2 separate regions of the Homo sapiens genome follow, and region 1 is linked to region 2. The links are contacts of gene promoters, found by promoter capture Hi-C in human tissues and cell types (Jung and others, 2019). All regions are on one chromosome and are shown on one strand. The core of a region is centred on a gene start or on the middle of the fragment in contact, and the rest is flanking DNA. Distances in the headings are between cores, read along the strand shown. Region 1 overlaps CYP2B6 (cytochrome P450 family 2 subfamily B member 6). Region 2 holds the start of CYP2F1 (cytochrome P450 family 2 subfamily F member 1).

Region 1 (4,803 bases), core at 1,117-3,616, 100 kb before region 2:
CATTTTCTACTCATCTTAGAGAGGGTGTTTTGAGAGGTTTGTAGCCTGGAGTTCTTAATCTGAAATTCCATGCAAAATCGTGGTGTGTGTGTGCATGTGTGTGTGTGTACCTGGGCATGTGGGAAGAGGATCTGTAATATTCATTAGATTTCAAGCAGTGAGAATTCTTGTTGCTTCCTCCCTCCTCCCCTCACCCCATGCTGATTACTTTGAGGGGTATCAAGGATCTAACCCTTTACTATAGGTTTTTCATTGGTCAATAGAAAGTAGTGTCCTTGCTGAAAGGTCTCTTTTTAAAAAAATTTTTTTTTCTTTTGAGATGGAGTCTTGCTCTGTCACCCAGTCTAGAGTGCAGTGGCATGATCTCGGCTCACTGCAACCTCCACCTCCTGGGTTCAAGTGATTCTCCTGCCTCAGCCTCCTGAGTAGCTAGGAATACAGGTGTGCACCAGCACACCCAGCTAATTTTTTGTATTTTTAGGAGAGACGGGATTTTGCCATGTTGGCCAGGCTCATCTTGAACTCCTGACCTCAAGGAATCCACCCACCTCAACCTCCAAAATTGCTGGGATTACAGGCATGAGCCACCATGCCTGGCCTGAAATGCCTCTTTAAAATGAGATTCATTGGTCTTCTTTTCTGTACAGAGAGAGTCTACAGGGAGATTGAACAGGTGATTGGCCCACATCGCCCTCCAGAGCTTCATGACCGAGCCAAAATGCCATACACAGAGGCAGTCATCTATGAGATTCAGAGATTTTCCGACCTTCTCCCCATGGGTGTGCCCCACATTGTCACCCAACACACCAGCTTCCGAGGGTACATCATCCCCAAGGTAAGACCGGCTGGAACCCCATAGCCCTCCTGTTTGGGCATCCTGGATTCTCTTAATCCCCGAACTCAACCTTTTGTTAGCTCCTTAATTGAGTCCCGTTGTTTTTGTTTTTTGTATTTCTTTTTTGTGGAGTGTGTGGAGGGTTGGAGGGAATGGCAATATCTTTTGATCTTGTGATCCTCCCTCAGGACACAGAAGTATTTCTCATCCTGAGCACTGCTCTCCATGACCCACACTACTTTGAAAAACCAGACGCCTTCAATCCTGACCACTTTCTGGATGCCAATGGGGCACTGAAAAAGACTGAAGCTTTTATCCCCTTCTCCTTAGGTAAGCTGGACCCACAATTTCTTTCCCAGACACCAGAGGGCAGGTACTATCCCCAACTTGAGAAAAACAACGAGAGATACTGATTATTTGAGCACTTAATATATTCTGATTGCTTCACCTGCCTTATCCCATTCCATCTTCACTACAACCCTATAAGGAGGCTTGAGAAAGAAGATTACATTCCCAAAGGCACATCTTGGCAAGCAGGACCTTGGGCAAGTATTTTAACATCTCTAAACCTCAGTGAGTTCATTTTCTTAAAAAGAAAAAATCTGTTGGGCACCACTGTAAGCCCAGTGCTGTACTGGGGGCTGAAGATAATGCATCAAACAAGTCACACAGAGACAGGGTTCCTGCCCCAGGAAATTTAAAGTCCAGCAGGGAAGATGGGCATTCATCAAATAATAATAAAATAATCATCTCATGAAATGAATGAATGCCTGCAACATGCTTAGAACTGCCTGGCACAAAGGACATGCTCACAAGGGCAATTATTATTATAATTAGACATAATTGTGATAAGTGCTCTAAAGGGAGCTTTGGGAGCACAAAATAGGAAATAGTAGCTAATCTTGTGGTGGGTCCGTAAGGAAAAGCTTACCAGAGGAACTGGCTTCCAAGCTAACATGTTCATGGGTGAGCATCAATCAACCATTGCAAAGTGTGTTCCAGGCAAAGGAAACAGCAAGGACAAAGGCCAAAGGTAGAAACGTGATATGGCACCATTGAGAACCTATAGGAAGTCCAGTGAGCCTTGGGTGTAGATTGCAGAAGGAAATAAGACAAAGGGCTCATCTGGGCAGGACCTTGAAGGTTGCAGGAGGAGTTTGGATTTATGGTCTAGCACTGGGAAGGTGGAAAAGGTCTTGACGTGCTCTGACTTGTCCCAGTTCTCATCCTCTACTCTTTGGCTGGTTAAAAGAAAAACTTTAGACAAATTAAACTTAGCAGAGTCTATCTGAACAAAGAAACAATTCATGAATTGGGCAGCACAAGGAACCAGTAAAGGTTCAGAGAGCTCCATCCAGCAATGTGGTCAGGCACTATTTATCCACAGGGAAAGGAACTGAGGTACTGAAACAGCCTGATTGGTTACAGCTCTGTGTTTGCCTTATCTGAGCATGTCTGGGCAGCTTGTAGCCTGTGACTGGCTGAAGCTTGGCTGCCCTGATTGTCCAAGGTTACTTGTTACAAGAATATACTCTCAAGTTTGTTTACATGTTGAGTTACATTACAATTTGTTATGTAGGGAGGCTGCTTTAGGCCAAATTTAATTGAATTTAACATGCACCATCCATGAAAGGCCCCAGAAACAAACCCCCAGTCTTGAGTTTCATCAGTGACTTCAGTGATCCAGGGTTTGGCCCAGCCCCCGGTTTTGCGCAGTACAGTGACCTCCTTCCACATTTTATCTTCAATGAAAATTGGGAACATGTGTGGTGATGGCTTGAATGTCAATGTCTTCTCTCAATTTTGCTATCTGAAGTTTCTTTTTTTTTTTTTGTCTTCAGACGGAGTCTTCCTGTGTTGCCCAGGCTGGAGTGCAGTGTCACGATCACAGCTCACTGCAACCTCTGCCTCCCAGGTTCAAGTGATTCTCCTGCCTCAGCCTCCCGAGTACCTGAAACTACGGGCGCATGCCACCATGCCTGGCTATTTTTTTTTATTTTTAGTAGAGACTGGGTTTCACCGTGTTAGCCAGGATGGTGCTGATCTTCTGACCTTGTGATATGCCCACCTCAGTTTCTGAAAGTCCTGGGATTACAGGCATAAGCCACTGCGACTGGCCTGCTAATTTGTTTTAAGAGAGGCAGAGATGTAGGGAAATAAGGACAGAGACAGATAAGTAACAAAGATAATGAGACTGAGAAACAGAGTTAGGGACAAAGAGGGAACACATAGAGATAGAGATGGGGAGCCAGTGGCAGAAAGACAGAGGGCAAACCTCAGACAGTATACAGAGAGGAAGAGAGAGAGACACAGAGAGAGAGAGAGTCACGTAAGGAGAAGGAGGAGGAGGAGGAATAAGAGGAGAGAGAGTAGGAAAAGGAAGGAGGAGGGGAGAAAGGAGGGAAAGGAGAGAAACAGAATAAGAGATAGGAAAAAGAGAGAGTGACATAAAAAGAGAGGAAGAAAGAATGAACAAGACAAATAAGGTATCTTTAGAGGGAGATGAAAAGAAAGAATGAGAGAGAAAGAGATTGGGGAGAAATCAGATTCAAATAGATGGAGATAGGAAGTTAAGCAAGATGGAAGAAAGCCAAAAAAAGGAGAGGAAAAGAAGAAAAGCTGTGTCTGACAGGTATAGACAGAGAAAAAGACAGGAGTAGGGCTGCCAGGGGCAGAAAGAAAGGTATAACCCAAGCCAAAAGGGTACTGCAGCCAAAGAAATTCGAAAGGTGTCCAAACAGACGGCCCCAGAGATGGGGAGGGCGTGATGAGAGGGAGATAATAAGCCTCAGGCTGTTGTGAAAAATGTTAGGTCACACAAAGAGTTACAGAAGAACAGGCCCAGAGACCTGCCTGTTTCTAAGCTCATGTCACCCACCTTCTGGGTATGCCAAAGGGATGTGGACACTTTTCCAAACACCTCCACATAGACACACTTGTCCAACAACTTGACAGGCATAGGGAATGCCTGAAAACTCACACTTGACATGGCCTTTCCAAGGTTTGCAGATTATGAAACACTGAAGTGAAGGGAAAGGCTCCCTTTGTCTCTGCCTGAGCTTTTTCCAGCACCCTTTGTTCTTATTTTTCTCCCAATCTGTGGTTTAGAATCTACTGGGGGTTCCTTGCACCTCTGAGAATCAGTGGAAGCCATAGACCCTCCCTGTCTCATACGCATCAGTCCCATTCACAATTTATATACAATTGGGCTTTTCCCCCCTTGAGCTCTTGAAGCCTGTGGATCTCAGGCTGAGACTAGAAGACAGCCTAGAGACACAGACACAGACACATGGCCAGAAACACATACCCCACACATACCCCAGAAACAAACACAAGGCAGTAACCAAACCTTAAGCCTCCTTAGCACAAGCCAAGTGCTATTCTAAGAATTTTTACAATTGTCTCCTTTAACCTCACAAGAGCCCTTTGAGGGAGGTGCCATTCTCCCCATATGAGAAGTGAAGAACACTAAGAATGTTGTCATAAATGTGCTCACACTCACACATGTACAGGTACACACACACACACACACACACAGAACCAGAAATGGGTCATTATACTCTGTGGGTTTCACCAACCCTTTGGAACTGTAACAGAAGCTAGAAACTCTCTTATATAAAAATGAACATGGCGCCGGGTGCAGTGGCTCATGCCTGTAATCCCACTTTGGGAGGCCAAGGCAGGTGGATTATCTGAGGTCAGGAGCTCGAGGCTAGCCTGGCCAATATGATGATACCCCATGTCTACTAAAAATAGAAGAAATTAGCCAGGCGTGGTGGCAGGTGCCTGTAATCCCAGCTACTTGGTAGGCTGAGGCACAAGAATCATTTGAACCACCTGGGAGGTGGAGGTTGCAGTGAGCCAAGATGGTGCCACTGTGCTCCAGTCTGGGTGACAAAGAGAGACTCCATCTCAAAAAAAAAAAAAAAAAAAAAAAAAAAAAAAAAAAGAGAGAGAGAGAAATGAAC
Region 2 (5,377 bases), core at 2,826-5,325:
CAGGCTGGTCTCAAATTCCTGACCTCAGGTGATCCACCCGCCTCAGCCTCCCAAAAAGCTAAGATTACAGGCGTGAGCCACCATGCCCAGCCGTAGATTTTCATTTATATGAAATGTAGATCAATAGTGGGAAGAAAAAACTAGAACAGGGCTGGATGCAGTGGCTCAAGCCTGTAATCCCAGCACTCTGGGAGGCTGAGGCAGAAGGATTGCTTGAGCCCAGGAGTTCGAGATCAGCCTGGGCAACATAGGGAGACCTCTGCCTCTACAAAAAATTTTTAAATTAGCCAGTTGTGATGGCACAGGCCTCTACTTCCAGCTACTCAGGAGGCTGAGGCCGGGGGATCATTTGAGCCAGGGAGGTCAAGGTTGCAGTGAACAATGATCACACCACTGCACTCCAGCCTGGGGGACAGAGCAAGACCCTGTCTCAAAAGAAGAGAAAAAAACCTAGAACAATGGTTGCCCACAAGAGATGGAGCATGGTTGACTAGGAAGGAGTAGGAAGGAGGGTTCTCTTTTCATTATTATTATTACTTTAGAGAAGGGAGTCTCTCTTTGTCACCCAGGCTGGAGTGCAGGGGTGTGTTCATAGCTCACTGTAGCCTGGAACTCCTGGGTGCAAGTGATCTTCCACCTCAGCCCCTTGAGTAGCTGGGATTACAAGCGTGCACCACCACACTTAGCTATTGTTTTTTTCTTTTTTTTAGTAGAGACAGGGGTCTCGCAATGTTGCACAGCCTGGTCTCAAATTTCTGGCCTCTAGTGATCCTTCCACCTCAGCCTCCTATAGCTAGGATTATAGGCACAAACCACCACGCCCAGCTCCAAGAGAACTTTCTTGGATGATGAAAATATTCTGTATCTTCACAGGGATTTCGATACCTTCAAAATTCAGCAAATGTTCACTTACCATGTGTGTATTTCATCACAGGTAAATTTTACCTAAAGAAATCGTTAAGGGAAAACTCCATCTACACACCTTCACAGGAACTATGACACAGTAAATAGAATCAAGTCCTCCAGTTGGCGATGGAATGGGATCTGGCACACCAGAAGGGGGCTCACCTAAGCCTGACATGGGACACTGTGTGGTTCTAGCAGGAAGGAAGGCTGCATGTGCCGTCCAGATGCCAGTGGGCAAGAGGACAGGATGATGGAGGATGCGCCCGCTTACTGCCCATTGCTGCCATTCTCTCCGTGAGATAAGAAGCGGGTTCATCAACAAAGAGTGAGGTGACTGAAGAGGGTTTTGGAGTTTGAGGAGGCAGGAACAAAAGGATAGGAATAGGGCGGGGGGAGTTCCAAGAGAGGACAATGAGAGGCGAGGCATTTTTCCACCACGGAGTGTGTTTCAGCTTTCTGCAATACCCCAGCGGTTCTCAACTGGGTTGATTTTTTTCCTCCCAAGGGGACATTCAATAGTATCTGGAGTCATGTTTGTTTGTAACAACTGGTAGGGAATGAGTGGGTGGGTTCTGTCATCTACTGAGTAGAAACCAAGGACACTGCTAAACATCCTACCACACACAGGATGCAGCCCCCACCACCCATGAAGGCCCAAGACATCAACAGCAGTGAGTTGAGAAATTGCAATACATCCCTTCCTTGCCCCAAGTTCCCTCTGTAGCAGGAGAGCAAGTCAGAATAACAGAACTCAAAGCCTCTTAAAACCCCCCTTCTCGGCCACACATGGTGGCTCACGCCTGTAATCCCCAGAGGCCCAGGTGGGAGGATCGCTTGAGCCCAGGAGTTGGGGACCAGACTGGGTGACATAGCATGCTAGATCTCATCTCTACTAAAAATTTTAAAAATTAGCCAGGTGTGGTGATGCGTGCTTGTAGTCCCAGCTACTTGGGAAGCTGAGGCAGGAGAATCCCTTAAGCCCAGGAGATCGAGGCTGCAATGAGCTATGATCACACCACTAAACTCCAGTCTGGGTGACAGAGTGAGACCCTGTGTCAAAACAAACTAACTAACTGCCCTTCCCATAAATCCCAGTTTCCCCAATCAGGTGGTCCCATTAGGCCCATCTTTTTTTTCTTTTTTTTTCTTTTTTTTGAGTCAAAGTTTCACTCTTGTTGCCCAGGCTGGAGTGCAATGGTACAATCTCAGCTCACTGCAACCTCCACCTCCCGGGTTCAAGTGATTCTCCTGCCTCAGCCTCCTGAGTAGCTGGGATTATAGGCAAGCACCACCACGCCTGGCTAATTTTTTTTGTATTTTTAGTAGAGACAGGGTTTTGCCATGTTGGTCAGGCTGTCTCAAACTCCTGACCTCAGGTGATCCACCCACCTCGGCCTCCCAAAGTGCTGGGATTACAGGCATGAGCCACCACGCCCAGCCTCATTAGGCCCCTCTTAACCAAGTTCTAGGGTGAGGGATAAGTTGCTTACAGGGTTGGCGTGGATACAGCACTACACCCTCCCCTTAAAAGTAGGGAGTAGACGCCAAGGGAAACTAGAGCTATATAATCCCATCATCAAGCCTTCAGCCCTCTTCCAGGACCTGCCCCAACCGGCCTATCCAGGACTGAAACAACAGCATGGGCCCCACCTCCACCCCACCATATGCCTGGGACCTAGGGTGTCAAATTCCCCAGGACCTCCAAACACTTCCTCCTCTGCCCCTCTGAGAACAGCAATCCTGGTGCACACCCACGAACCTGTGGGGGTACCCACACCTCCACCTGGCCTCCCAGACCCTTGACCGCAGGGGCTCTCCACCCAGCCTAGCCCCTGGCACCAGAGCCCTGGCCCAGCTCCAGGTTTTGCATTCTGCCCTTGTGACCTGGCCAGGAGGTGGGTAACTAGGGCCAGTTTCTTCTTCTTTTTTTTTTTTTTTTTTTTTTGAGACCGAGTCTCACCCTGTTGCCCAGGCTGGAGTGCAGTGGCATGTTCTTAGCTCACTGCAACCTCCACCTCCCGGGTTCAAGCGATTCTCCTGCCCCAGCCTCCCAAGTAGCTCAGACTACAGGCGTGAGCCACCATGCCTGGCTAATTTTTGTATTATTAGTAGAGACAGGGTTTCACCATGTTGGCCAGGCTGGTCTTGAACTCCTGACCTCAGGTGATCCACCCACCTCGGCCTCCCAAAGTGCTGGGATTACAGGCGTGAGCCACTGCGCCTGGCCTACTAGGGTGAGTTTCTAAGGCAGGAGCTGAGAGTAGACATGGCTAGTAGGGTGCTCAGGAGGGCAGGAGGAGGGCTGTTTATGAGCCAGTGGTGGGAGAGAGTGTCATTCTAGTCTGAGAGGCTTTTTCCCTGTGGCTTCCAGCTCTGCCCTTTTCTTAAACACTCCTTCAGCCTCAGCTTGGCTTCAGTCCCACCAAGTGCAGTCTGACTCGTGGAGACATGAGAGATAGAGAGAGTGAGAGACCAGAGAGATCAGGAGACAGTGACTGAGAGGGACTTACAGGGAGATCAGGGAGAGAAGCAGAGAGAAGGAGAAAGCCCAGAGAGCATAAGAAATGAAGACCCAGAGACACCAAAGGAGGGAGAGACAGAGACACAGAGAGACAAAAAGATTCAGAGGCAGAGACTGTAGAGGCAGAAGCAAAGCAAGACACAGAGCATTTCAGAGACCCACGGCAAGAGACAGGGAACAGCATGGAGAACTATGAAAAAATAGGCTTCCAGAGAAAGAGAAAACTCCAGCTCTGGAGGGAAAGGGACTTAGCCAGGGCCACTCGGCCCATCAGTGGCAGAAATGGACTTGAACCCAGAGAAAAAGAAACAAGTGCCCCAAATACCAAAGGAACCCAGCCCCCATCCCTGGCCCATCATTTTGCGACAGCCCCATGACTACCCCAAAACCAGGCCCAGGCTCCAACTGGCAAAGCAAAAAAAAAAAACAAAGAAAGAAAGAAAGCTTTGCCCCATCCCAGGAGGGCCCCCAGGCGCAGCCCCCTCCCACGGCACCTTTCCAGCTGGCTGTGAGCCCTAGGGCCGCAGGAAAGGTATGGCAAGATGATGGGAGGGATTTAAAGTTCACAGCGAGAACAAGAAAAGTGGGGTTAAGGAGGAGGGTGTGGGCAGAAACAACTTAAGAACAACCTCTGCCCCACCACCCCCCAAGCACACCCAGAGCTGCAGGCTCTAGCGCATCCCAGCCAGTGTCTCCTGCAGCTCAGCAGGTAAAGGGCCCCGGTGAGGGAGGCAGAGAAGGAGGGGGTGTCTCCCAAGAGAGGGTGGGTCGCCAGCTCCAATCTCTGTCTCTGAGACTGGCTAGGAATCTTTTTTGCTGTTTCCTCTGAGAGCTCTCATGTCCCTGTTCTGAGCACTGGGATTTCTTTACTGGTGCTTCACCAAGTAGGTGGCTTCTCTCTCTGCAATGCAACCCCATGGTTGGCAACACTTGATTTTTTCCTGTCACTGTTTCTGCCTGTGCCCTTCCTCTCTGTCTCCGTCTCTTTCTCTCTCTCTCTCTCTCTTTTTTTTTTTTTTTTTTTTTTTGAGGCTGGAGTGCAGTGGTTCAATCTCAGCTCACTGCAACCTCCACCTCCTGGGTTCAAGCGATTCTCCTGCCTCAGCCTCCTGAGTAGCTGGGATTACAGGTGCCTAACACCACGCCTGACTAATTTTTGTGTTTTTAGTAGAGACAGGGTTTCACCATGTTGGCCAGGCTGGTCTCAAACTCCTGACCTCAAGTGATCCGCCTGCCTCGGCCTCCCAGAGTGCTGGGATTACAGGCGTGAGCCACCGTGCCCGGCCTCAGTCTCTCTTGGTCTGCCCTTTGCAGCCTACCCGTCTCTTTGTGTGGCTCTAATATTCCCTGCCTCTCTTATTCTCTCTCTCTCTCTCTCCATCTCTGTCTATGTGACTCTGTCTTTGTGTATCTGTTTCTGTCTGTCATTCTCGTCTCCCTCAGTCTCTGTGTCTAGCTCTGTCTCTCCCTCTCTCTGTCCCTCTTACCCTTTTTCTCTCCATCCTTCCATGTCCCTCTCTGTCTCTCAGTCAGTGTCCATCTCACTGTCTCTCCACTCAATCTCCCTTGTCTTTCTCTAGCTCTGTGTCTGTCTAGTTCTGTCTCTTTCTTTCTCTAGTCTATGTCAGCCTCTCTCTTTCTGTGATGTGCTCTCTGGCTCTCCCTATCTCTGTGTTTGTCTGTCTCTGTCCCTGTGTGTCTTGATCTCTCTTTATCACTGTCTCTGTATGACAGTCTCTTGACAGACAGGTGATGATAGATAGATAATAGACAGATGATACACAGATGATAGATTATGAAGATAGTAGATAGATGATAGATATAGATAGATAATAGATGATAGATAATAGACAGATCAATGATAGATGATAGAAGAATAGATAGATGATGGATAGACAGATGATAGATGATAGATAGATAGATAGATGATAGATAGATGTTGATAGATGT

What was found. The method cuts DNA at HindIII sites, captures the fragments that hold promoters and counts their contacts. A contact is called where the count stands out against the background at its distance.
Region 1: a contact is called between a fragment that was not itself captured here and the fragment with the promoter of CYP2F1 in region 2, in 3 of the 25 tissues and cell types used here (H1 embryonic stem cells, bladder and liver).

Annotation. Positions count from the first base shown.
Region 1 is chr19:41,011,651-41,016,453 of GRCh38, forward strand. CYP2B6 (cytochrome P450 family 2 subfamily B member 6) reads left to right here. Exons shown (of 9, transcript NM_000767.5): 7 at 648-835; 8 at 1,024-1,165. Among named protein-coding and RNA genes, the nearest start is that of CYP2B6, 23 kb to the left of the region's middle. The HindIII fragment of the contact is 4,745 bases long and covers 1-4,739 here.
Region 2 is chr19:41,110,357-41,115,733 of GRCh38, forward strand. It overlaps CYP2F1 (cytochrome P450 family 2 subfamily F member 1), which reads left to right and starts at 4,076. Exons shown (of 10, transcript NM_000774.5): 1 at 4,076-4,136. The HindIII fragment of the contact is 13,902 bases long and covers 1-5,377 here.